6 separate regions of the Homo sapiens genome follow, and all the other regions are linked to region 6. Evidence: promoter capture Hi-C in 16 types of primary human blood cells and fetal thymus (Javierre and others, 2016). All regions are on one chromosome and are shown on one strand. Each heading gives the region's core, a stretch centred on a gene start or on the middle of the fragment in contact. The rest is flanking DNA. Distances are from core to core; before and after follow the strand shown. Region 1 has its middle 32 kb from the start of UBE2D4. Region 2 overlaps CCM2 (CCM2 scaffold protein). Region 3 holds the start of URGCP-MRPS24 (URGCP-MRPS24 readthrough). Region 4 has its middle 21 kb from the start of TBRG4. Region 5 overlaps CCM2 (CCM2 scaffold protein). Region 6 holds the start of NUDCD3 (NudC domain containing 3).

Region 1 (4,085 bases), core at 510-3,009, 530 kb before region 6:
TCAGAGCTCCCCTTGAAGGCAGGTGCGCAGCTGGGCTCCACGTTGGAGGGCAACAGCAGAGCTGCCACTTATAGCCGGTCTTTCAACCCTGCTGTCCCCCAGCCCACCCACAATGGCTCAAAAGGCTGGTCTTCTGAGAAAGACTTGCTGCTAGCCAATCATCACAGTCACTTTCCAGTTATGTTAAGTGGCATCAGAGCATTGATTAGCACTTACGGTATGCAAGATATGGTAGGAGGAAAAGGGAATTATAGACAGAAACCATGTGAAAGTATAAAAGTCACTGATAGACTAGATACACGAATGAGAAACAAATCAAGCATTATCATCACAGAAAACCACCAAATCGCAAAAGATAAGAAAGGGATCAGGCATGGTGGCTCATCCCTGTAATCCCAGCCCTTTGGAAGGCTGAGGTGGGAGAACTGCCTAAGGTCAAGAGTTTGAGACCAGCCAAGGCAACATAGTGAGACCCTGTCTCTTATTAAAAAAAGGAAAGGAAAAAAATTTTTCAAGAGGAAGAAAGTAACAAAGGACATATAAAACATCAGAAACCAATTAACAAAATGACAGGAATAAGTCCTCACTCATCAATAACAACCTTGAATGTAAAGAGTTCAAACTTCCCAATTAAAATATATAGCCTTGTTTAGCCGGGCATGGTGCCACATGCCTGTAATCTCAGCTACTCAGGAGGCTGAGGCAGGAGAATCACTTGAACCCGGGAGGTGGAGGTTGCAGTGAGCCAAGATCATGCCACTGCACTCCAGCTTGGGTGACAGAGTGAGACTCTATCTCCAAAAAAATACAATTAAAAAAATATATATATACACACACATAATACCCTTGCTGAGTGGGTTAGAAAAACAAGATCCAGGCGAGGCATGGTGACTCACAACTGTAATCCCCATGCTTTGGGAAGCTGAGGCAGGAGGATGTCGCTTGAGTTCAATACCAGCCTGGGCAACAGAGCAAGACCACTAGCTCTAAAAAAAAAAAAAAAAAGCTGGGCCTCGTGGCATGTGCCTGTAGTCCCAGCTACTCGGGAGGCTAAGACATGAGGGTTGTTTGAGTTCAGGAGTTGAAGGCTGCAGCTGAGTTATGATTGCCACTGCACTACAACCTGTGTGACAAAACAAGACCTTGTCTCTAAAATAAATTTTGTAAAATGAATTTAACAAAAACAAGATCCAGCTATATGCTGCCTATAAGGAACTCACTAAAAAGATGCATACAGACTAAGTGATGGGATGAAAAAAGATATTCCACTCAAATGTAAACTAAAAGCATGCAGGACTAGCTATACTTATATCAGACAAAATAGACTTTAAGTCAGTCAAAAAACAAAAAGAGAAAAGGTCATTATATAATGATAAAGGGATCAATTCAGCTAGAGGATATAACAATTGTAAATATATATGCACTCAACACTGGAGCACCCAGATATATAAAATAAATATTACTAGAGATAAAGAGAGAGATAGACCCCAGTACAATAAGTTGGGGACTTCAGCACCTACTTTCAGCATTGGACAGATTATGGTCTAGAAAATCAACATAGAGGCATGAGACTTAAAATACGCTATAGACCAATGAATCTAAGAGACATTTACAGACTATTTCATTCAACAGCTGCAGAATACATATTCTCATCAGCACATGGAACATTCTCCAGGATAGCCCATATGTTAGGCCACAAAATAAATCTCAACAAATATTTAAGAATCAAAATCCTATCAAGTATCTTATTAGACCACAATGGAATAAAAAGCAGTATGTTGCAGCCTCCAGAACTGTGAGAAACAAATTTCTGTTCTTTCTAAATTAAAAAAACAAAAAGCACTAGAAGTAAGTAACACAAGGAACTCTGGAAACTGTACAAATACATGAAAATTAAACAACACCATCCTGAAAGATCAAGGGGACAGTGAAGAAATTAAGAAGAGGCTGAGTGAGGTGGCTCACACCTGTAATCCCAGCACTTCAGGAGGCCAAGGAGGGCAGATCACTTGAGGTCATGAGTTCAAGACCAGCCTGGCCAACATAGCAACACCCCCATCTCTACTAAAAATACAAAAATTAACGGGCCAGGCATGGTGGCTCACACCTGTCATCCCACCACTTTGGGAGGCCACGGTGGGCGGATCACCTGAGCTCAGGTGTTCGACACCAGCCTGGGCAACACACTGAAACCCCATCTCTACTAAAAATACAAAAAATTAGCTGGGTGTGGTGGTGTGTGCCTGTAGTCCTAGCTACTCGGGAGGCTGAGGCAGGAGACTCTCTTGAATCTGGGAGGCGGAGGTTGCAGTGAGCCAAGATTGCACCGCTGCACTCCAGCCTGGGCAACAGAGCAAGACTCTGGCTCAAAAAAAAAACAAAAAACAAAAAAACGAAAAAGATACAAAAATTAGCTGGGTGTGGTGGCGTGCGCCTGTAATCCCAGCTACTCGGGAGGCTGAGGTAGGAGAATCGCTTGAACCTGGGGGGGCAGAGCCAAAATTGTGCCACTGCACTCCAGCCTGGGTGACAGAATGAGACTCTGTCTCAAAAAAAAAAAAAAAAAAAAAATTAGTGCCGGGCGCGGTGGCTCACGCCTGTAATCCCAGCACTTTGGAAGGTCGAGGCAGGCGGATCACGAGTTCAGGAGTTCGAGACCAGCTGATCAACATAGAGAAACCCCATCTCTACTAAAAATACAAAATTAGCCAGGTGTGGTGGCGCATGCCTGTAATCCCAGCTACTCAGGAGGCTGAGGCAGGAGAATCACTTGAACCCAGAAGGCGGAGGCTGCAGTGAGCCAAGATTGTGCCATTGCACTCCAGCCTGGGCAACCAGAGCAAAACTCCATCTCAAAAAAACAAAAAACAAAAAAAACACACAAACCTAAACTGCCTCTGTAACACTAATGAAAGGCCACCAGGTTAGAAGGATGAGAGGGGCCTGAATTTGTAGTTAAATGATTACTGCCATTATTCCAAAGGTCACAAGATTTACAACTTCCCCCAATAACTCCTGTAAATAACATCACTATTGTGGAACCTAAGATTGGCCTTTTGAGATGTCTTTTCAGGCTTTTGCATCTCTGATAACTGGATGGCCCCAGTTAGACTCCTGTGGCCCCACCCAGAAGCAGACAGCACATGAAGACCATTTTCCACAGCCCTATGACTGCACCCCAAACCAATTAGCAGCACCCATTCCCTAGCCCCCTGCCTGCCAAACTATTCTTTAAAAATCTTAGCCTCCAAATTTTCGGGGAGGCTGATTTGAGTAATAATAAAACTCTAGTCTCCCATTTAGCTGGCTCTATGTGTATTATACTCTTTCTCTGATCTTGATAGATCAGCTGTATCTGAGCAACAGGAAAGAAGAACCCATTGAGTGGTTACAGGACAGCCAACAGGAAACTTAAACAAGAAAAATGGGAGCATGAGAGGGATAAGGGCGAGGGGGTCTACATAGGGCAGGCCACATCCTCTCCTCTTTAAAACCCATCAGGGTTTCCATTACACATAGAATAAAACCCAAAGCCCTTCCCTTGGCCTCTCCTTCTCCCTGTGTCCCACTTCTCAGACCAATTAAGCTGGCTCCTACCTCAGAACCCAGTCTCTGCTCCAGGGTTAGTTACCTCCTCTAAGGCTTTCCCTGGCCTATCAAGCTGAAACAGGTTTCCATACACTGCAACAGGAAGCAGTATCATGCTCCCTCAAACTTCTCACCACTAGAGACTCCTCCTTATAGTCTTCTCTACATGGAGCTTGGTCACCTCACTGAGCTGATCTAATTCCAGAACACAGAGACCTGCTTCTTTGGCCTGCACAACCTGGTTTCAGGTAAGGGTAGCTTCTCCTCAGGTAGACTAAAATTTGAAAAGTGCTCCCAGACCTCCTAGGGCTTCCACCTGGGACTGGTGGCCAAACGGGTGAAGGAACCTGACAACTAGAAGGTGATTAAATAGGAGTATTCCCAGACAAAGAAGAGAAAAAAAGGTATGTTCACCAAAGAGAAGACGGTATAAGTACCATAAGACTGATGGCCAAACTCCTCTAGAATATGGAGACTGGGGGCAGAGGGATGAGGGG
Region 2 (4,092 bases), core at 460-2,959, 550 kb after region 6:
CTCATTAGGGAGGCAGCTGCAGGGCCTGCTGGGAGCCACTGGACGACCAATTTCTGCTTTTTTCAGGAGTGGTTACTGAATAGTGTAGTCCTTGGCTGCAATTGTCTGTGAAATTGGTGGGTTTGAGGAGGTGTCCTTATAGGACCACAGGTTCTGCTACACCGTTTTATATTGGATTTTGCATATGGGTGAATTTCCCATATGCTGGAGAGAGACAGAAATGAGAGCTTTTAATGAAAGTTTGGTGGTTTATTGTATATATGTTTTGTTAGTTTCTGTGTTTGGTGATAAGGGGGGTCTGAGCTTGGCCTACTGTGGGGGTTTCGGCTGCCATCTGTGCACTGGGTCACCCTATCCTGGCAGGCACCTGCAAAAGGAGTGTTGTCATCTCCTCCTGCGTTTCCTCTGTTGAGAGTTATGGAGGAGATGGTGGGGAATAAGTTCTCACTCTTAGTCACGGCTCTGGTTTTTGCAGGCCTGCGTGATGTTTCCTTGCTGCGGCTGCACATCAGTGTCTTGTTTTCTCGGGTTTATGTTCCTTTGGGTGACTGTAGATAGGGATTGTAGCATGATCTCTCAGCACAATTTGGGATTGCTTCCCCCCAGACCCCCACCCCCCGCCGCCATTGTCAAAGGTGGTGATGAAAAGCTTTCTTACGGAGTTATTGTGAATGAAGTGTCAGGTCTTTTCCTGGGTTCTGCAGGCGAGGCTTGCTGTAATCCTCTCTTGCTCTCTCACTGATTCTCACTCTTTAAGGTGACTTTGATTGCAGGATTAGCCTTCAGAACCCTCATGAAATGCTGGATAGGGTGTGAAGTCATCAGAGTTAGGGGCTGGCCAGCTGCTGATCAGGGCTTCTCCCCCTACTTTTTTTTTTTTTTTTTTTTGAGACAGTATCTTGCTCTGTTGCCCAGGCTGGAGTGCAGTGGCATCTCGGCTCACTGCAATCTCCGCCTCCTGGGTTCAAGCAATTCTCCTGCCTTAGCCTCCCGAGCAGCTGGGATTACAGACATGTGCCACCACACCTGGCTAATTTTTGTATTTTTAGTAGAGATGGGGTTTCACCATGTTGGCCAGGCTGGTCTCGAACTCCTGACCTTAAGTGATGTACCCGCCTCAGCCTCCCAAAGTGCTGGGATTACAGGTGTGAGCCACCGTGCCTGGCCTGGTTTCTCCCTTGTTGATCTGCATTGGAGCTCAACACACTCAGTGTCCCCACTTGGAGTGTTCCCCACTGGGGAAAGAATTGCATAAAAAACATATGCTCCACTTGTTGATGCTAGCACTGGCCACACCTTCCACCTGCCTTCCTGGAGTTCTCAGAAATGAAGTGTCCCAGCTGAGCTGGAAAGAGTTGGAGTGATGTTATGTTTTATCTTCTGTGGGGAATCTCCCCCTTCTATCATTGTCTTGCCAGATAAGGTTACCTGGCTTCTATGTGTTGTAGGAACAGGTGAAGAACAAGGTGCCTCCATGCCAGAGGCTGCATGGCAGCCCAGCCCCACCGTGCCGGCCTGCGTGCTGGCTGTGGTCCCTCAGGCTTGTGTGCTGTTGGTACCTTTCTCACCAGTCTGGCAGTCAGTGATCCCTGTTGCATGGGGGCCATGGTAGTAGTTTTGGCTACTTCTGTTTGTTAACCATAGGTACAACACAAAGCATTTGTAAATAATGAACTCCAATCATTGCCGTTTCTGCCTGCAGCCTGGAATTGTCTCGCCATTTAAACGAGTATTCCTAAAAGGTGAAAAGAGTAGAGATAAGAAAGCCCATGAGAAGGTGACAGAGAGGCGCCCTCTGCACACTGTGGTGTTGTCATTGCCTGAGCGCGTCGAGCCAGACAGACTGCTGAGCGACTATATTGAGAAGGAGGTAAAGGTAAGTCGTCATGGGCCACAGGACGTGCCTGCCAAACGACAGTGACGGTCATGCTTGTATCCACCAGACACTCTTGAGTTTATAAGACACAGCCACACAAACACCTTAGTAGTTGATTATCCCACCCATTGTCTTGTCTATGCTGATAAATTTAATAATTGGATAACTGAAAACCCAGATTCTGTCTGCTGACCCCAGTTTATTTTTTTCTGTAGTAGCAATGCCACCTTCTTTCTCTCGAAGACTTGGCTGTGTGAGTAGTATGTGCTGCTCCACCAGAAGAGGGTTAAAGAGCTGGGAGAAAACTCACATCTCCTGTAGTTTGCAGTTGAAAAGAGTTACCTGGTCAAGGCCATGACCTTGCAGGTCTAACAGTCACCGCCTAGAATTCAGACCATGTGTTTGAGGCTCATCATTGGGTCTCAAAGGCCTGAGGCCAAAATACTGTGCATAAACCATGTGACGTGCATAAGTTGATTTTTAATCCCTCCCCTAAAATGAAAATATATGAATAAAAAGGTATAAAGCCATGAGGTCAGAGAGAATAGGAAAGGAGACAACAGTGGATGAGGTGGTCCGTAAACATGGAAGAAGGAAACCGCTGAGGGTGAGATGAGTTAGAGCTAATGCAGCCAGACCCGAGTTCCTGCAGAGGACCCAGAGTCCAGGGGGCTCAGGAGGGGCATGGGGCAGTTCGAATGTCCATGGGAGGGATTTCCACTCTCACCTGGCTCAGCCAGATGATTAACTCATCCCCACCCACTGGAAGATGGGGCTTTGGACGTGCAGAAACCTGGTACAGGGGCAGGTGGGGAGAGACCAAGACAGAAGATAAGGAAGTCAAGTCAAAGCCTGTATGTGGAATGGAGAGAATTCCCAATTCCTTTTTCTTTCAAGCTTCTAGAATGCCTGCAACCAGGCCTTTCCCACAAAGGAATTCTTGGAAGGGTGCTCATTGGGGAAGTTAAGCAGCCCCTACTGGCCCTTGGGTTTACCCAACCAACCAGCCTGAATAAACTCCAACAGTCAGGACTCCCGCCAGGCATCCGACGTCTGTCAGCTTTTTGGAGCCTCATTTCAAACACAGGCAGCTGAGTATAAGTACACATTTGAGGACAACTTTCAACCTAAAGGCAGAGCTCAAGACAAATACACAAACATGAATAAACAGCAACAATGCAGAAAATAGGGGAAGAAATGTAAAAGTATATAATATTTTCAGAAAGATAAGAGGAAATATTGTTGACAGTGACAACAGGATTCTACTTTTAAATAAAAAGGTGAGAGGAAGAGCTTCTGGAATTAAAACTGTTAATTAGGCCAGGTGCGGTGGCTCACACCTGTAATCCCAGCACTTTAGGAGGCCAAGGTGTGCGGATCACTTGAGGTCAGGAGTTCGAGAGCAGCCTGGCCAACATGGAGAAACCCCGTCTCTACTAAAAATACAAAAATTAGCCGGGCGTGGTGGCAGGCGCCTGTAATCCCAGCTACTTGGGAGGCTGAGGCAGGAGAATTGCTTGAACCTGGGAGGTGGAGGTTGCAGTGAGCCAAGATCACACCACTGCACTCCAGCTTGGGTGAAAGAGTGAGACTGTATGTCAAAAGAAAACAAAACAAAACAACTATGTTATTTATATATCTTTAAAAAATTCAATAGAGGTGTTGAAAGATAAAAGTAAAAAAAAAGGCCAGGTGCTGTGGCTCATGCCTGTAATCCCAGCACTTTGGGAGGCCAATCACGAGGTCAGGAGATTGAGACCATCCTGGCTAACACAGTGAAACCCTGTCTCTACTAAAAATACAAAAAATTAGCCGGGCGCGGTGGCGGGCACCTGTAGTCCCAGCTACTCGGGAGGCTGACATAGGAGAATGGCGTGAACCCAGGAGGTGGAGCTTGCAGTGATCCCAGATTGTGCCACTTCAGCCTGGGCAATAGAGCGAGACTCCGTCTCAAAAAAAAAAGTAAAAAAAAGTCCCAGAAAGAATATTCAAAAAACAAAGAAGGTTAATAAACAAAAGATGAGAAAGAGAAATGAAATTAGATGACCAATTCAGGAAGTTCAACATCTGACTCCCAAGAAAAAAGAATGAAGGGAAGAGTGAGAAGAAGTTATTAAGACAGTAAAGGAAGAACATTTTGAATAATTGACTGATGGACATGACTCCCCCCATTGAAAGGATCCTGTCATGATGACTAGACAGGTCTCTAAAACCTC
Region 3 (4,521 bases), core at 447-2,946, 580 kb before region 6:
AGGGGGAAAGGAATGCTGCAGGACCTTGAACCCCTAGGTCAATCAGCCTGGCCTTCCCAGGGATGGTTCCCTGCTTACTCTATTCATGAGCTCAAAGTGCTGGGTAGTCAGCTGGCAATGAAAAGGCCTGGTCCCGGAAATGACCACTGCCCCAAAGCCTAGAAAGACAGCAGGCGGGGTTCAAATTCAGCTTGCTTCATTCAGGCCCACTGTACTGAGCCAAATCACCCCAGGGCATGGCTCAGGCCTCATCTGGAGGAGGCACGAAATCCATGATCCCGGCCCCTTAGCACCGTCCCCTCCCCACCCCTACCACTGAACACACACCTGTAAAGCTCTTTGGGAACTGTTCTGAATGGCTATCACAGCCACTAGATCCAAGACCCTCTGAATGATGGGTAACAGTCAAAGAAGAATTTTAACAACTAAAGCGATGACCTTGAGCCTAATTTCTTTCTTTGTAAAATGAAAGTGTTGGACTGTCATTCCCAAATTTCAGTACTAGTAAAATTATCAAAACAAAAAACAAAAAAATAATGAATTACTGAGGTTTTAGTTTGCCAAGTGAGAATTTTTTCTCAAAAATTACAAACTATATGTGTCGCCATCATTTCCTAAAAGGAATAACATTTAAATCAAAAAAGTTGAAAAGAGGTAATATCAAAATAAGCGCAGCCACCCCAAGGCAGGCCGGTAGGCAATGGCCCCGACCAAGGAGATCCCGGAGCGGCTCTCCGGCTGTCAGCAAAGGGTCTGCATCTGCCCGGATCCTGACATTCTGGGTACGTCTCAACGACGCGGCAAACAAGCGTCCACTCCCAACGCGAGCAAGTTTAAAACCCAGGAACATCGATACCAGGCGCCGGAGCGAAGCATTTCCAGGCCTCCGCGGGTTGCCCCGGGCCGCGGCGAGGACCCGCACCCCGGTTCCCCAGCCGCTCGCCGGGCCCTCGCTCCCGCCGCGCCCCGGGCACCTCCGGGCCTCGCGCCCTCCCCGGATCCCCTAGGCCCGCGTACCCGGACCCCCGCATCCCGGGGGACCGCTGTCCTCCGCCGGCGCCCCCGCCCGCCCCCCACGCCCGCGCGGCCGGTCCGCCCAAGGTCGGCGCGAGCGGGCCGTGGGCCTGGTGGGCCTGGCGGGCGGGGGCGCCCCTGGCCGGGTCCGGGCCGCATCCCAGACCAGAGCCCGCAGGCCAGAGCCGCTCCGGGTCCCGCTCCCGTTCCTGCCGGCAGCCGCGGGGGCGCAGGGCCTGCGAGGCGGCACTCACCCGGGCGACGCCATGAGCGCAGCGAGGTCTCCGCTCCCGCCTCCTTCGCTTCCTCCGCGCGGCCGCGGCTCGGCGCCGGGGAGGGGCCTGGCCCGCCGGCCGCCCGCCCGCTCCGGGACGCGCTCCAGGGGTGGAGGTGGGGTGAGGTGGGGTAAGGTGGGCCCGGGGTCCTCTCGGAGCAGCCCGGGGACAGCTGGGGCGGGGTGGGGGCGGGGCGGCCCAGGTCAGCCCGCAGCCCGCCCAACGCCCACCTGCCCAGGTGCCTGGAGGCCGGAACTCGCCGGGCGGTGCCTGCGGTGCCAAAAGCTGTAGGATAACCTGCCCCAGGGCCTTACTGAACTTCACACCTTTCTGTAATTGGAGTTTAATTTCTGTAAGAAAAGGCTTTTCTTTAGCCCTGAAGCGTAAGGCCTTATTATTAAGCAAAACAATAACTTTCCTACTTCTTACTTGCAGTGCTGTGTTGGACGAGTTGCTGGCCTCTCTGAGACGGTACCCATTGTAAAATGTGTATAAAGTGGCCTTGTGAAGCTCTAGGCAATGCGAAGCACTTTTATTATTCTTTATAGTGTGTTATTAAGAAAAATAATGAATCTGCAGTTCCTCCAGTGAGGTTTCACAACTATTCTTACAAGTTATGAGTCCTTAGGCAGGTAGATTTTTCAGCTTCAGTTCTTCTCTCTGCAAAATGAGTTTCCAAAAATGATCTAAGTGAAAATGCTTAATAAAAAGCTCTGGACAATGTAAACCATTGTTGATAACATTTTTAGTATTATATTAAATATCACTGGCCGAACGCAGTGGCTCACGTCTGTAATCCCACCACTTTGGGAGGCCGAGGCAGGAGGATCGATTGAGCCCAGGAGTTTGAGATCAGCCTGGGCAACATATTGAGATGACCCCCTGCCCGCCCCGCCCGTTTCATTTTTAAAAATAAAATTAAAGTTAAAAGTAAAATATCATTAACAACCACTATTTAAAAATGTTTACTACTATTAAGAATACAAGACAGCAAAGCAGTGATTAAAACCTTAGCTCTGAAGCCAGAATACCTGTGTTGGAATCTGGGCTCCACCAATTACCAGCCCCAGGAGCCCCTGCAAGATAGAACCTTTCCAGGGCCACAGTTCCTTATTTGAAAAATAAGGCTAAAAATAAGTCCCTTCCTCTCTGTGAAGATTAAATGAATTAATATTTGTAAACATTTGTAACTATTTTTAAATGTTAGTAAACATTGCGTGATGCATGGTCTCTTTTCCTCCTGGGAGAATCCAGTCAATGTTTCTGAGCCTCCTTGTCCTCTTCGGTAAAGAAATTCATAACTGCTACCTTGAGTTCAGAAGATAATTAATGCTCTGTAAATGGGAGCTGATAGGTAAAGCCACGCGAACTTGTGACACCCAAAATAAGGACAAATCCAGGAGGACCAGAGTTAGGAAGAGTTTGAGGAATGGGAAATCCTAAATCCTAAATGCCTGATTCAAGGGAGTAATGAAATGAAGGAGATCAAACTAAAAGAATTTTTTCTTTGTTTGTTTGAGACAGGGTCTTGCCCTGTCACCCAGGCCAGAGTGCAATGGCGAGATCTTGGCTCACTGCAACCTCCACTTCCCGGGTTCAAGCAATTCTGCCTCAGCCTCCCAGTAGCTGGGACTACAGGCGCCCACTACCACACCTGGCTAATTCTTCTATTTTTAGTAGAGACAGGGTTTCCCCATGTTGGTCAGGCTGGTCTCAAACTCCCAACCTCAGGTGATCTGCCTGCCTCAGCCTCCCAAAGTGCTGGGGTTACAGGCGTGAGCCACCATGCCTGGCCTAAATAAGCATTCTTTTAAACATAAGGAATACATGTTTACTGACATAAAATCTGGTTCAGAAACCAATAACCCCAAAATATGGCACTTTAACAAGCTGAACTGAAGAAGTCTCAAGGTCTCTCTGATCTCCCTCCCCACTGGTTTCTCCCAAAACAGAAAATGTCTTTATCTGCTTAAAGTCCAGACCCTCCAAGGAGAACAACTGTTTTTCTTGCCCTCCCTGTAAGACCAAGAATGTAACCACACCTGAAAAGACCCTTTCATAGGATAGCGTACAAGTTAATCTCTGTGCCCTGATCCATTCCTTCTCCCTAGTAATCCTTTATTGCCCCTTGAAAGAATTCCTCTTTCTCCCCTCCTGTAAGTTGTTTTGCCAAGATGGTCTACAAGCTTCTGAACCTTGTTGGGTGGTGGGAAATCATTCTGTAATTCTCCCTGTGCACACATTCATAAAATTTGTATGCCTTTTCTTCAATTAATCTGCTTTTTGTGAGTTGATTTTTCAGTAAATCTTCAGAGGGCAAGGAGAAACTTTCCCGTGGCCCGTACACTTAACATGAATTTTAGCATCCCACTATATGGTTAGACCATCATGTTTAACCAACCCCTACTGTTGGACATAAATATTGCTACCAGTATTTCATTATTATAAGGAATGTGAGTAATAAATATCCTTATAGCCAAAACATCCCATAAACATCAATGATTATTTCCTTATGCCAAATTTTGAAGAGTTGAATTTCTAGATCAATAGGATATCAGTATTTTAAGGCTCTTCTGAAACATATATACTCTGTGTATGTGTATGTGTATACCTACACACATACACAAACACACTAATATACATATACTTAAATACATAATACACATACACACATATGTATACATATACCTACACACATATATACAGACACACAAATATACACATACACAACATATACACACATATATACAGATTGCCTTCCCAGCACAATCACCTGATAGTCCTAGTTTTCCAAAACACTGTGTAACTTTTACAATTTTTCAAAATCATTGCCAACTTCATAGGTTAAAAACCAGTATTTTAGGCCAGGTACGGTGGCTCATGCCTGTAATCCCAGCACTTTGGGAGGCCGAGGCGGGTGGATCACTTGAGGTCAGAAGTTTGAGACAGCCTGGCCAACATGGTGAAACTCCATCTCTACTAAAAATACAAAAATTAGCTGGGTGTGGTGGCGTGTGCCTGTAGTCCCAGCTACTAAGGAGGCTGAGGCAGGAGAATTGCTTGAACCCAGGAGGTGGAGGCTGCAGTGACTGCAGCCACTGCACTCTAGCCTGGGTGACAGACTATCTCAAAAATAAAAATAAAAAATAATTTAAAAAATAATAATAATAAATAAAATTGGCCAGTGCTGTGCCTCACGCCTGTAATCCCAGCACTTTGGGAGGCTGAGATG
Region 4 (4,019 bases), core at 426-2,925, 640 kb after region 6:
CTCGGTATGGATGTGTCCACATAATTGCTAGTCTCCTATTGATGGACATTTAGGTTGTTTCTGATTCTTTGCTACCACAGAAGACCCCAGCTTTCGGCATGTGGGCAGGGAGCTCTGCAGGGTACCAGTGTAGAGGCGGAGATGCTGGGCCAAAGGGTCCATGTTTCGCCCACATGGGAGGCCCCGCCCAAGTGTCCTCCAAGCATCTGGCCCGATTCCCAGTCCCTGCTGGCACACCTGGGTATGCAGGGCTGGTCCCCGACACCTCATGAGCAGACACGCTCATCCTGCCCACTGGGTAGATAGGTCGATGGGTGATGGTGGAGGCTTTTATTTTTACTTTTTATTATGATAATTTTAAACATACAGCAAAGTAAAAATAATAGTTCAATAGGTACTCACAGACCGATGGTCTAGATTAACCTTGTCAACATTTTGTCGGACTCATGTTACTATTGTTTGTGTTGTTGTTGGAATTTAAATCTGAAACATCGTGTTGTTTCAACCCCAACTACTTTCTTTTTTTTTTGAGACAGAGTCTCACTGTCACCCGGTTTGGAGTGCAGTGGTGCAATCTCAGATCACTGCAACCTCTGCCTCCTGGGTTCAAGCAATTCTCCCTGCCTCAGACTCCCGAGTAGCTGGGATTACAGGCTCCCACCACCACACCCGGCTAATTTTTGTATTTTTTAGTACAGACGGGGTTTTGCCATGTTGGCCAGGCTGGTCTTGAACTCCTGACCTCAGGTGGTCCACTCGCCTCAGCCTCCCAAAGTGCTGGGATTACAGGCATGAGCCACCACGCCTGGCCAATCCCCTACTACTTTCATATGAAGTTGGAAATCCCAGGGCTGTTTTCCTACAGATAAAATTATTCTACGCGTAAAGTAACTGCTAGTTCCATGAGCTCAGGTTGGCTGGGTCTTTCCTTCTCAGTGGTGTCCAGCCTCTGCAGTCCTCCTTCAAACTGCCCCTGCACCCCAGCTCCCCCAGCCTCCCTCCTGTTTCTTGTCCCTCTATAGTCCTCACTCCTCAGGGAATGTCTATGGCACTGCCACTATCCCCTTTCTCTGCTCTCCCCTCCCCTCATCCTGTGGGAAGCATCCGCCCACGCTCCCTGAGCCCCTGCCCTAGCCCCCACCCCTGCATCCCTGGCAGCAGCTCCCAGGCACAACCAGGGCCCTGCCTGGTCCGGAGCACGCCCATCTGTTCAGCCTTCAGAGGCCTTGGACCCACATCTGCCCACTGTTGCCAATGCAGAACTTGGCCTCCTCCCACATCTCCTTTCCCTGGGAATGGTTCCTCACAGCCAGAGACTTGGAGGGCCTCCCTTTTGTGTTTCTCCATCTAATCAGTTACCAAGAGGTTGGGCCACTGGTGGATGCCCCTCCAAAACCCTCTTGAGTGTGTTCCTGTCAGCTCTTCTGGGCTGCTGCCCTGGGATGGGCTGTTGTGGCATCGGCCACTGCAACAACCGCCTTAACACACTTGTCTGACTACAGACGATCTGATTTGTTCATGAGATGTCCTGTATACTGTCCTCCAGAGCACAGGACCTCTCTCATCTTGTTGAACAGCACATTTGCAGCATCTGGGGCATTAGCCTTTAATGGGAAGGAAGGGAGGGAAAAAAGGAGGAAGGGAGGGAGGAAGGAGGAGAGGGAGGGAGGGAGGGAAGGAGAGAGGGGAGGAGGGAGGGAGGAGGTGGGAGAGGGAGGGAAGGAGGCAGGGATGGAGGGAGGGAAGACTATATCAGGCCTCCCCACTTTCCAGTTAGTTGTCAATGCTCTGTCCAGCATGGCCTTTCACGCCTGGGCATGATCCTATCACAACCCCATCTGAAACTCTTCGGCGGTTTCCCATTACCTGGGGGGAGAAGTCCAAATGCTGGGGTGTGGCATTCATGCCCTTCATGACCTTGAATGAAGTGGCCTAGAGGAAGCGTTTGAGTGCATGCCTGTGTGAATCTAGTCTTGGCTGTGCTAGTTGTGTGACCTTGAGCAGCTTACTCCTTCCTCATTTGTAAAATGGGGTAATAATGAGACCTATTCCAACTACCAGAGGGAGCTGGGGCCCGGGGGGCCAGGAGGGAACACATGTTCTGTGTGGCTGGTGGGGGGCAGTGGGGAGGAGTGAGAGGTGTTGGCAGGACAAGGAGTTCGGGTTAGGTGCACAGCTGCCCTTAGAGCCCTCAGGGCCAAATGGAGAAGCCAGAGGGTTCCAGGAATGCCATTCCTCCAGGCTCACCAGCCCCAGAGGCAAGGAATGTAGGGTTCTTCTTGCGCCCAGGGGAAGGTTGTTGGCCCCTGGCTTGCCTGGCTCCAGCCTATCATCTTCTAAGATGCACAGGCTCTTTCACTCCCCAGCAGCTCCTGTGTGCCCAGGATTGATGGGGAAATGAGGCCCCGGGTTGTGGTCATCTGGAGCACACTGTCCCCACTCCTGGTCCTATGGGGTCAGCTGGGTCAGGATTTTCTCCAAAACTCTGAGTAAAGACAGGGATGGAGGAGGCCATGCTATTCCACAGGTGTGTCCTGGTCTTGTGGTGACTGCCACAGGCCCTGGGTACATGACCTGCCTTCAGCCCTTGCAATCAGGGTCACGGCCTCTGATCACGTGAAGGTCTCATGCTTGTCATCAGGGTCACAACCCTGGTGCAGGTCCTCAGCCCTTGTCATCAGAGTCAGGACTCCTGGGTGAATGTCCTGTCCTTGTCATTGGGGTCATGACCCTTCGGTGAAGGTCTCACTCTCATTATAGGGGTCCCGACCCTGGGTGCAGGTCCTGCCCTCAGCCCTCTGCCCTCATCATGGTCTGTCTGCTCTGACACCCTTCCTACATCTCCTGTCTCACCAAGTCATGTCCCTGCATACAGTTGCTACACCTCCTGCCTCTAGCTCCTGCTTAGAAAGTTCTCTCCTCCCATCTTTCAAAGCTCTACTGCCACCTCCTACTCCAGGGCTGCAAGGCTGTGAGGCTGCAGTGGGCCCTCTGCCCCTTCTCTTGTACCTAGCAGAACCGTGGGCCTCATGGGCCTGTGGTCATTGGCAGGTGGGTTGGATGTCCCACTGGCTCTGTTTCTGCCCTGGACCACAGCAGGTAGAGCAGGGCTGCAGAGGATGCTGGGCGCAGCCCTGGTGGCTAAGGCCTCATGGTGTCATCTCTGTCCAGCTTGTTCACTTGTGGTCCATTTGCTAACACTTGTGTGTGGCCAGGGGCACAGGCACATGAAATGCAGACCCCAGGTGCATACCCACAGAGGCTCCTCCCCAGCTGCGAGGCTTCTGACAGGGAGTCGCCCCCGAGCTTTCAGAAGAGTCCAGCGCTACACAAGGACGCAAGGAGCATGGATGGTCCTAGGCTGAGATATCATGCAGCCTGGCAGGTGCAGAGAAACAGGGTCTTTTTGGGGAGTCATTTTCTCCAACACTGAGGTGGGAGAGGGCTGGGGAGGCTGGCAGGGCTGGACCATGGAGAGCCATGGGGGCCAGGCCAGGGGTCAGGGTGGCAAGGCAGGATCAGACACGTTTTAGAAAGGCCCTTTGCCAGTTGACAGGGAGGTGGGAGGAGAGGAGAAGGGGAGCCTGGACAAAGGTAGGCACTGGGCCTGGGAGGAAGGTATGTGGGACCGGGGCCTGGGTCTCCTGGGCTGAGAAGGGAAAGTCCAGCAGGGGTGGGGTTGTAGAAGGGAGGGCAGCAGGCCTGGCCTCTACATCTCCATAAACTCTTGATTTCCAGCTGATGCCCCTACTCTGCAGAAACACTGACCCTGGGGAGATTCTGAGGCTCAGGTCAATGCCTTGGGTAGAGAATGAGGAGGTAATGAGCCCTGAATGGAGTGGCTTTTCACTGTTCCAGCCAAGGGGCCCCCTTCTTTACAGCTGGGGGCCTTGAAGCTCAGCTTGGTCAGGGACTTGCCAGTATCACACTGGGATTGGGGAGTGGCCCTGGGACTACCCTTGGCCTCTGGAGCCCCAGGGCCAGGCTGGGAGTCAGAGCACCACCCTGCTCTGTCTTCT
Region 5 (4,404 bases), core at 858-3,357, 530 kb after region 6:
GGGAAGGGATAGTGAGAAGACACAGGATAAAAAGCCAGTTAGAGAGCTCATCTCTGGACATGCTTCCCGTCTTGTCCTTGACATGCATGCTGACCCACTGCTGGGCCTTGGGCATTCTGCCCTTTTCAGCTTGACAGACTGATGCTGCCCCCACCTCCCCATCCGAAAGCCATGATTTGACATTTTTAAAAGACCGAAGAAAAGAAAGAAAATTTATCTTTTCTGTTTATCCCTCCTTTTATCATTTTTAGCACTTTTATTTCCTCTGGAAAATTTCCATCTGGAATAATTTACCTTTGGCCTTGTCAACTTAAAAATTCAAGAAATGTACATATTTGGAAAGGATACTTTATTTCTTACAAAGAGTTGCAACCTGTAGGCTGGCCATCCCACAGGCTGGGAAGCGTAGCCTTTGGCAGAGCCTGAAAGGTAGGCACTTCAGAGGAGGAGGGGTTGGAACAGGAATTTGTGCTGAATGGGTTTGTGCTGACCAAGTATATACATATTCAACAGGTTATAGGAGGAGTTATGAATATTCATGGAGGGGGTCCTGATGCATGTGTACTGAACAGACATGCAATTTATTTTATTTTATTTATTTTTTTTGAGACAGTTTCACTCTTGTTGCCCAGGCTGGAGTGCAATGGCGCGATCTTGGCTCACTGCAACCTCTGCCTCCCGGGTTCAAGCGATTCTCCTGTCTCAGCCTCCTGAGTAGCTGGGATTACTGGCGCATGCCACCAGGCCTGGCTAATTTTTGTATTTTTAGTAGAGACGGGGTTTCATTATATTGGTCAGGCTGGTCTTGAACTCCTGACCTCAGGTGATCCACCCGCCTCAGCCTCCCAAAGTGCTGGATTACAGGCATGAGCCACTGTGCCTGGCCCAAACATGCATCTTTTTTTTTTGAGATGGAGTCTTGCTCTGTTGCCCAGGCTGGAGTGCAGTGGCGCGATCCTGGCTCACTGCAACCTCCGCCTCCCAGGTTCAAGCGATTCTCCTGCCTCAGCCTCCCAAGTAGCTGGGATTACAGGCGCCTACCACCACGCCTGGCTAATTTTTGTATTTTTGGTAGAGACAGGGTTTCACCATGTTGACCAGGCTGATCTCTAACTCCTGGCCTCAAGTGATCTGACTGTCTCGGCCTTCCAAAGTGCTAGGATTACAGGCGTGAGCCACCTCGCTTGGCTAATTTTTTTTGTATTTTTAGGAGCGACAGGGTTTCACCATGTTAGCCAGGATGGTCTCGATCTCCTGACCTCGTGATCCACCTGCCTCGGCCTCCCAAAGTGCTGAGATTACAGGCGTGAGCCACTGCATCTGGCCCAAACATTCATTTTTAAAAGAACTTTTAGGTTCAGGGGTACATGTGCAGGTTTGTTATATAGGTAAACATCTGTCATGGGGATTTGGTGTATAGATTATTTCATCACCCAGGTACTAAGCGTAGTATCTGACAGTTATTTTTTCCAGACAGGCATGTTCTTTGCATTCCATGTTCACTTTGAGGTGGAGACAACATTATATTCAGGCCCCATACCTCAAAAGGTGAAGCAAGGAGACAGGGCACTCAAGTGCACAGCCTCTATAAACTGGCTAGAACCAGTCTGTGGCTGGTGGTCTTCTTGTCAGGAGAGAGTTACTGAAGTCAGTCTCTTATACAGTCACAGCTATAGTTTTGGCTTGTGGAACAGGAGGTCAGTTGGCATCTGGTGGTGAGTTGCAGTTGTTTTCCTATTGCTTATCCAGGACAGTGCTTGTTTGGCTGCTAGAGAAAAAGAAGAACCCTGTGGCAGTTAGAACAGAGTTGATCTTGAAGAGTCAGACTGTGTGGCTGAATCCTTACCTGGCACGGTCGTAGGTCTTGTTTATAATTTGGTGTCTTTTTTTCCCCATGATCTTCATGAACGCATGTAATTTGGTATTTTATTGCCACAGAGTCCATTCTGTCAGTTTTGTGGTCTCTATTTTAACATTAATGCTGGTCAGTTGTGCCTGAACTACAAAAGGGAGGGAATATAATGAGGTGCGTCCCAAGGCATCTTGTCATGGCTGGAACCAAAACAGGCTTTGTTCAGTCAGTTGGAGTGCTTAGGATTTTATTTTTAGTTCTTAGCCTGAAGACCTTGCTTAGAATTTTTCATGGTGTAGGTCTGACACATTGTTTCACCTTTTATTATCTGAAAATACCTTCATTTCATCTTCATTTTTGAAGGATAGTTTTACAGCAGCAGTCCCCAACCTTTTTGACACCAGGGACCGGTTTCGTGGCAGACAGTTTTTCCATAGACCAAAGTGGGGAAAAGGTTTTGGGATGAAACTTCCATATCAGATCATCAGGCATTAGATTCTCTAAGGAGTGCGTAACCTAGATCCCTCCAACACACAGTTCAGGGTTTGTACTCTTATGAGAATCTAATGCAGCCACTGATCTCACAGGAGGCGGGGCTCAGGTGGTAATGCTTGCTGGCCCTCCACTCACCTCCTGCTGTGTGCGGCCTGGCTCCTAACAGGCCACGGACCCAGACCAGTCTGTGGCCTGGGGGCTGGGGACCTCTGTTTTACAGGATATAGAATTCTAGGTTGACTGTTTTCTTTCAGCATTTTTTATTATTTATTTATTTATTTATTTTGAGATAGAGTCTCGCTTTGTCACCCAGGCTGGAGTGCAGTGGCGTGATCTTGCTCACTGCAACCTCCACCTCCTGGGTTCAAGTGATTCTTTTGCCTTAGCCTCCTGGGTAGCTGTGATTATAGGCACATACCACCACGCCCAGCTAATTTTTTTTTGTATTTTTAGCAGAGATGGGGTTTCACCATGTTGATGGGGCTGGTCTTCAACTCCTGACCTCCAGTGATCTGCCTGCCTGAGCCTCCCAAGGCGTGAGCCACCATGCCCAGCTTCTTTTGGCATTTTAAAGATGAAGACTCATTATCTTCTGGCATCCATTTTTTCTCTTGAGAAGTTACCTGTCATTTTTGTTGTACTGAATGTCTTTTATTTGACAGTTTTAAGAATTTCTTTTTTTTTTTTTTGAGATGGAGTCTTACTCTGTCGCCAGGCTGGAGTGCAGTAGCGCAATCTCAGCTTACTGCAACCTCTGCCTCCCAGATTCAAGTGATTCTCCTGCATCAGCCTCCCAAGTAGCTGGGATTACAGGCATGCACCACCATGCCAGGCTAATTTTTGTATTTTTAATAGAAATGTGGTTTTGCCATGTTGACCAGGCTGGTCTCGAACTCCTGACCTCAGATGATCTGCCTGCCTCGGCCTCCCAAAGTGTTGGGATTATAGGCGTGAGCCACTGCGCCTGGCCTTTTTTTTTTTTTTTTTTTTTTGAGACAGGGTCTCACTCTGTTGGCCAGGCTGGAGTGCTGTGGCGTGATCTCGGCTCACTGCAACCTTGCAACCTCCGCCTCCCGGGTTCAAGTGATTCTCCTGCCTCAGCCTCCTGAGTAGCCGGGACTACAGGCATGCACCACTGTGCCCGGCTAATGAAAAAAGTTTTTTAAATATAGATGGAATCTCAGTATGTTGCTCAGGCTGGTCTTGAACTCCTGGCCTCAAGCCATCCTCCTGCTTCCGCCTCCTGGGATTACAGGAATGAGCCACCGCACCTGGCTGGGTTTTATACTTTGGTTTGGTAGATCAGTTTTGATCTTTGTCCTTACTCTTAGGGTAAATTTCTTAGTCCTGGAATGTATGTTTTACTCCTAAGATGTGGCCTTTGTGGGGTTTCAAATGGATAGTCTCAAGTGTTTAAGGTACTGATTAAGCCCCTTTAACTTGGCAGGACTTGGACTCCAAACTCTTATCTACCCTGCAGCTAGGGAGAGCTAAAATCTCAGCTTTTTTTTTGAGACGGATCTTGCTCTGTTACCCAGGTTAGAGTGCAATGGTGTGATCATAGTTTACTGTGACCTTAAACTTCTGGGCTCAAGCAATTCTCCTACCTTAGCCTCCCAAGTAGGTAGGACTACAGGCATGCACTATCTGGCTAATTTTTATTTTTGTAGAAATGGGGTCTCACTATGTTGCCCAGGCTGGTTTCAAACTCCTGAACTCAAGTGATCTTCCTGCCTTGGCCGCCCAAAGTGCTGGGATTATAGGCATGAGCTCCCGCACCCAGCCATCAGCTTGCTCCTTCAACCTTCAAGCTATCGTGTCCTTTCTGGGCTTGTGGGAGTCTCACCTCCGCTTACGCAGTTCAGGGTTCAGCCAAAGATTTGAGGGGACCTTATACTCAGACTTTGGGTTCCTTTTTTAGTGGGTTCCTCCTTTCCTATATTTCCCTCTCAATTTCCAGCTTCTTTAGCAGTCTCAAATCCTCCTTTAACCTGTCAGGCCAATAAAATTGCAGCTTTTTTTTCTCTGCTCCACTCCTCTGAGACTGGGGCATACTC
Region 6 (4,331 bases), core at 990-3,489:
CCTCTCTTAAGCATCTGCTGGAGACTGTTGTCCCCTTGGTTTCTGTGAAACTTATTGCTCTCCACCAAGATTATTCCCCAAGGCCTGTTCTTCACCTTTGGCTCTTCTCTCTCCCTCGGACCACTCCAGTTGCTCTAGCTCCCAAAAGATCTAGTCCAGTAATTCCAATAGCCTATGGGCAGGGACTCCTACCTGCAACTTCAAGTTCAACCTGTCTAAAACTGAACTTTTTCCCCTAAACCCAGGTGACAGTTCAGTTAACGCATTATCACTATTCCAGTCACCCAAGTTGAAACCTTGGATCATCTTTGACCCATCCCTCCCCTTCCTCCATCCCTGCTCCCCATCTCCACTACTTCATTAGACTGGTCACCAAATCCTAACCTATGGAAGTGTCTTGTAAGAGGTGTTACCAGGTAAATGAGTTACCAGGTTAATGAGTGCTCTGTCAGTTCATCTGTGAAACAAAGACCAACCTCTCAGGTTATATTAAGGGTTAAATAAGATAACGACCCCAGAATATAAAACATCTGATACTATACATATTACTCAGTATATACTCCTTTCTCCTCCACATCTTTCTGCAAACTACAATCAATCTAGACAAAAGTGTTCTCATCCTACTATGGAATGGTTAAACAACAGAACAGGAAGATTTGGAATCCACAAAATGAAATTTTTAGTTTCAGCTCTACGGTGAACTGGCTGTGTGTTCTTGGTCAAATCACTTAACCTTGCTGAATTGGTACGTAAACTTGAAACTTATCTGTTTCACAGAGACACTGAAGATCAAATGGCAAGACTTCATTAACCTGCCATAAGATCCTGCTAAAGGCCACCTCCAACAGCTCTCTCATCACTAAGATGGCACTTATGCCACTGACAAGGACGAGGAATAGCCTTAAGTTCTGAAATTGAATCCTAATGGAACCCCATTCCTCGTTTGGCCCTATTACCCTGGTAGCTACCAAGACATTCAAAGCTTTGGCTTCTGCTGAGGAAAGTAACATCTTACCAACCTGCAGCATGCATTAAGACTTCAGGAGGAAACATCTGAAGCATTTTATAAACTGTAACATCTAGAGAACTGAGGGAGGTATCATCAGCATTTCTATCTTCTTGGGTTTCTACAAATAGGCTTAATACTTGGCTGAATAGTTTCTTTTAATCTCATCAGAAGTCCCACCTCTCTTATAAAAACTTCACTTCTCAACCATCATTTCTATTTCCTTTCTTTACAATGGGCTCCATCAAATAATTGCCCTTAAAAAGTTTTCTATTACTTTCTGGGTTTTCTCTCTTTAACTGTGTCACAAGGAGAGAGAAACCATTACTTAAACACCCGTATCACCCTCACCTGCGGCAACTAAGAGTGTAAACTACATTCAGCAAAAGGTTGCTTACCACTACATTCAAAAGTGCCCAGTCAACTTCACTGAATGAGTATTGACAGCGTTTCCAACATACAATAAACTTAACCTGGAGGGTACGGAATTAAGCTCAAATAGAAATTTTAATAAGCACTACATTGACAGTCTTTGACCTGGGAAGTCACATTTCAAACAAGCGACCACACCCATTGATCAACACAATGCCTCCGTCATCCCCGCCAGCTCAAGTCTTTGGTAGTTCTGGGGCATGCACGTTTCTGTTGCTGTAAATGTCCTTCCTTCTGTCTGGCCTGCATGGATTTCGCTCCCTGACTAGCGGCCCCCAGCACCGTGAGGGGTACGCGCTGGCGGGTGCTGAGTAGGGCTCTTAACAGTCGGCTTACTACTTCTGAAACCTCAGGACGTCCGGAGCGAACACCTCAGCGGAATAAGCTGACATCCAATCCGCGCTTCAAATTACTGAAGCCATTCTCACAAGCTCAACCCCAGGACACCAGGAAAAGGAGGAAACAGGCTGGGAGAGCTTGGAGGAGCGGGCGCCAGGAGTCAGGGCAGGCCGGGGGCGGCGGCTCCCCAGACCGCAGGCCCGCCCGCCTCACCTGCAGCACCAAGGCCTGCGCGGCCCCGGGCGGGAAGCCCATGCGGTCCGATGGGTGGCGCAGCAAGCGATAGAAGTCTGTCTTGCGGTAGAGGAAGCCAAAGAGAACGCGCAGGAAATCCTGGACGTTGCCCACGTGCTGCAGGATGCCCAAAAGGGCCTGGTCATACAGCTCGGCCGCCCCTGTCTCCATGTCGCCTCCCGCCCTAGGTACGCTTCACACACACAGCGCCGCCTCAGACCTGCCGACTGGCCACTTCCGGCGTCCGCAGCCAACGGCTCCGCCGGACGGCGCGGCTGCGGAACTTCCGGTCCGTGCTCGTTCGGCCCCCGCGGCCCCGGGCTGTTTTCCCCAGACCCAGCTGCCCCACGGGCTTTGCCTTGAGGTGGTCTTAGACAAAAGAGCCCGACAAGGGCAGCAAGGAGGTTCCTACGCGGAAGGAAGCCCGTGGCTTCTGCTGCGCTGCGAGGGCTTGACCGCCATGTTTGAAGCGGGCGGAAAAAAATTATGGGGCGTGCAGTGTCACGTGACTGCTCGGATTTTTGTCACGTTGTCTGTGGATCCTTTCTTATTTCTGTGTTGAATTCCAGCCTGGGTATTTGGAACCTATGGTTAAAGATGGGGCTAGGGTAAGCTTTTTGTTAGTGAGCCAGAGACGGGAAAATGCGTATATGTGGGATGTATGGGTTTCTTATTAACAGATCTGTGAGTTAAACTCAGGGCGTTGCATCAGAAGAAAGTCAAGATGACGAAGAAAATAAAGAGTGCATTCAACGTATATTAAGTGGAAAGAGCTAGATTCAGAATAGAGAATCCGTATGCCATCGTTGTGAAATATGTACGTGTATGTGTGTGTATAGTATGTATATACATATATACGTCATATATACATATGTTGTTAGTGTCTGTCAAAGTATAATCTTAAAAAAGTAAAAAGCATGACACTCATACAAATATATCATGAACACATATCCAAGATTTCTTCAGCAAATTAACAATGATATGGTAAAGCTGGTTCAAAAGCATTTTGAGGAAGTGGAGATTAAACATTTTGACAAAGCATTAGAGTAAGATTAGGTTGGATACAAAGCTGGCTGGTGTTCTACAAGATGATAAAACCATAGATTATCATTTCTAGTGTATAGAAATGATTTGCACCTCTTCTAGATTAAAACATGCAAGTTAACATGTCTTCATAGTGTATAAGCTTTAATGAATTGTAAATAAAATCCAACTCAGGTAAATTGCCCTAGAACAGTGGTTCTGAAACTCTTGATTTAGGGACCATTAATCCTCTTAAAATTTGTTGAACATTCCAAAGAACATTTGTTGATATGGGTTATGCTTATCAATATTTACCACATTAGAAATTAAAACATAAAATGTTTAAATATTTATTTAATCATTTTTAAATGACCATAAAACACATTACATGTTAACATACTTTTATGCAAAAAATAATGTTCTTCAAAGCAATAAAAGTTCAGTGAGAGGAGTAACATAGTTTTACATTTTTGCAAATCTCTTTAATGAGCCTACTAGAAGACAGCAAGATTTGGCCGGCACAGTAGCTCATGCTTGTAATCCCAGCACTTTGGGAGGCCGAGGCGGGAGGATCAGGAGTTCGAGACCAGCCTGGCCAACACAGTGAAACCCTGTCTCTACTAAAAATACGAAAATTAGCTAGGCGTGATGGCAGGTGCCTGTAATCCCAGCTCCTCTGGAGGCTGAGGCAGGAGAATCGCTTGAACCCGGGAGGCAGAGGTTGCAGTGAGCCGAGATCACACCACTGCATTCCAGCCTGGGCGACAGAGCTAGACTCCGTCTCCACAAAAAAAAAGAAGACCACAAGATTCTCACATCTGCATTCACTGCAACATAATTTGCATTATGTTGTTTTCATTGAAGTATATGAAAACATGCAACCTCACACAGACAGTTGCAAATGAGAGGAATATTTTGTCTTTTCAAATAAATGTGGCTATTTGTCTTTAAAATGACATCAAAATTCTTCTACAAGCGATAGTTTCTATTTTTTTTATTTTTAAGAGGCAGGGTCTCCCTCTGTCACCCAGGCTGGAATGTAACGATGTGATCATAACTAACTGTAGCCTTGAACTCTTGAACTCAAGCAATCCTCCTGCCTCAGCCTTCTGAGTAGCTGGAACTACAAGCACATGCCACTGTGCCTGGCTAATTTTTAAATTATTTTTATAGAGACGAGGTTGGGCCTACATTGTTCAGGCTGGTCTGAAACTCATGGGCTCAAGCGATCCTCCCCTCTCAGCCTCCCAAAGTGCTGGAATTATAGGTGTGAGCCACTGCACCCAGCCCTGTAACT

What was found. Contacts are between HindIII fragments. The CHiCAGO score rates a contact against its expected background, and 5 or more counts as called.
Region 1: a fragment that was not itself captured here is called in contact with the fragment with the promoter of NUDCD3 in region 6 in 5 of 17 cell types (total B cells, naive B cells, neutrophils and 2 more); the score reaches 5.7 in total B cells.
Region 2: a contact is called between a fragment that was not itself captured here and the fragment with the promoter of NUDCD3 in region 6, in 1 of 17 cell types (naive B cells). The highest score is 6.7, in naive B cells.
Region 3: a contact is called between a fragment that was not itself captured here and the fragment with the promoter of NUDCD3 in region 6, in 1 of 17 cell types (total B cells). The highest score is 5.5, in total B cells.
Region 4: a contact is called between a fragment that was not itself captured here and the fragment with the promoter of NUDCD3 in region 6, in 4 of 17 cell types (naive B cells, fetal thymus, total B cells and 1 more). The highest score is 6.9, in naive B cells.
Region 5: a fragment that was not itself captured here is called in contact with the fragment with the promoter of NUDCD3 in region 6 in 1 of 17 cell types (naive CD8 T cells); the score reaches 5.7 in naive CD8 T cells.

The regions. Positions count from the first base shown.
Region 1 is chr7:43,956,242-43,960,326 of GRCh38, forward strand. It overlaps the pseudogene POLR2J4. Among named protein-coding and RNA genes, the nearest start is that of UBE2D4, 32 kb to the left of the region's middle. The HindIII fragment of the contact is 6,737 bases long and covers 1-4,085 here.
Region 2 is chr7:45,036,551-45,040,642 of GRCh38, forward strand. CCM2 (CCM2 scaffold protein) reads left to right here. Exons shown (of 10, transcript NM_031443.4): 2 at 1,703-1,876. Among named protein-coding and RNA genes, the nearest start is that of CCM2, 38 kb to the left of the region's middle. The HindIII fragment of the contact is 2,124 bases long and covers 648-2,771 here.
Region 3 is chr7:43,905,294-43,909,814 of GRCh38, forward strand. It overlaps URGCP-MRPS24 (URGCP-MRPS24 readthrough), which reads right to left and starts at 1,303. Exons shown (of 7, transcript NM_001204871.2): 1 at 1,269-1,303. The coding sequence starts at 1,282. URGCP (upregulator of cell proliferation) reads right to left here and starts at 1,303. Exons shown (of 6, transcript NM_001077663.3): 1 at 1,269-1,303. The coding sequence starts at 1,282. RefSeq lists silencers at 1,079-1,508, 1,569-1,728. The HindIII fragment of the contact is 3,554 bases long and covers 1-3,473 here.
Region 4 is chr7:45,130,909-45,134,927 of GRCh38, forward strand. No RefSeq gene overlaps it. Among named protein-coding and RNA genes, the nearest start is that of TBRG4, 21 kb to the left of the region's middle. RefSeq lists an enhancer at 2,913-3,413. The HindIII fragment of the contact is 5,554 bases long and covers 1-4,019 here.
Region 5 is chr7:45,015,743-45,020,146 of GRCh38, forward strand. The region is part of intron 1 of CCM2 (CCM2 scaffold protein); the gene reads left to right. Among named protein-coding and RNA genes, the nearest start is that of CCM2, 18 kb to the left of the region's middle. The HindIII fragment of the contact is 4,740 bases long and covers 1-4,404 here.
Region 6 is chr7:44,488,419-44,492,749 of GRCh38, forward strand. NUDCD3 (NudC domain containing 3) reads right to left here and starts at 2,240. Exons shown (of 6, transcript NM_015332.4): 1 at 1,991-2,240. The coding sequence starts at 2,182. RefSeq lists silencers at 1,822-1,991, 4,057-4,183. The HindIII fragment of the contact is 1,642 bases long and covers 981-2,622 here.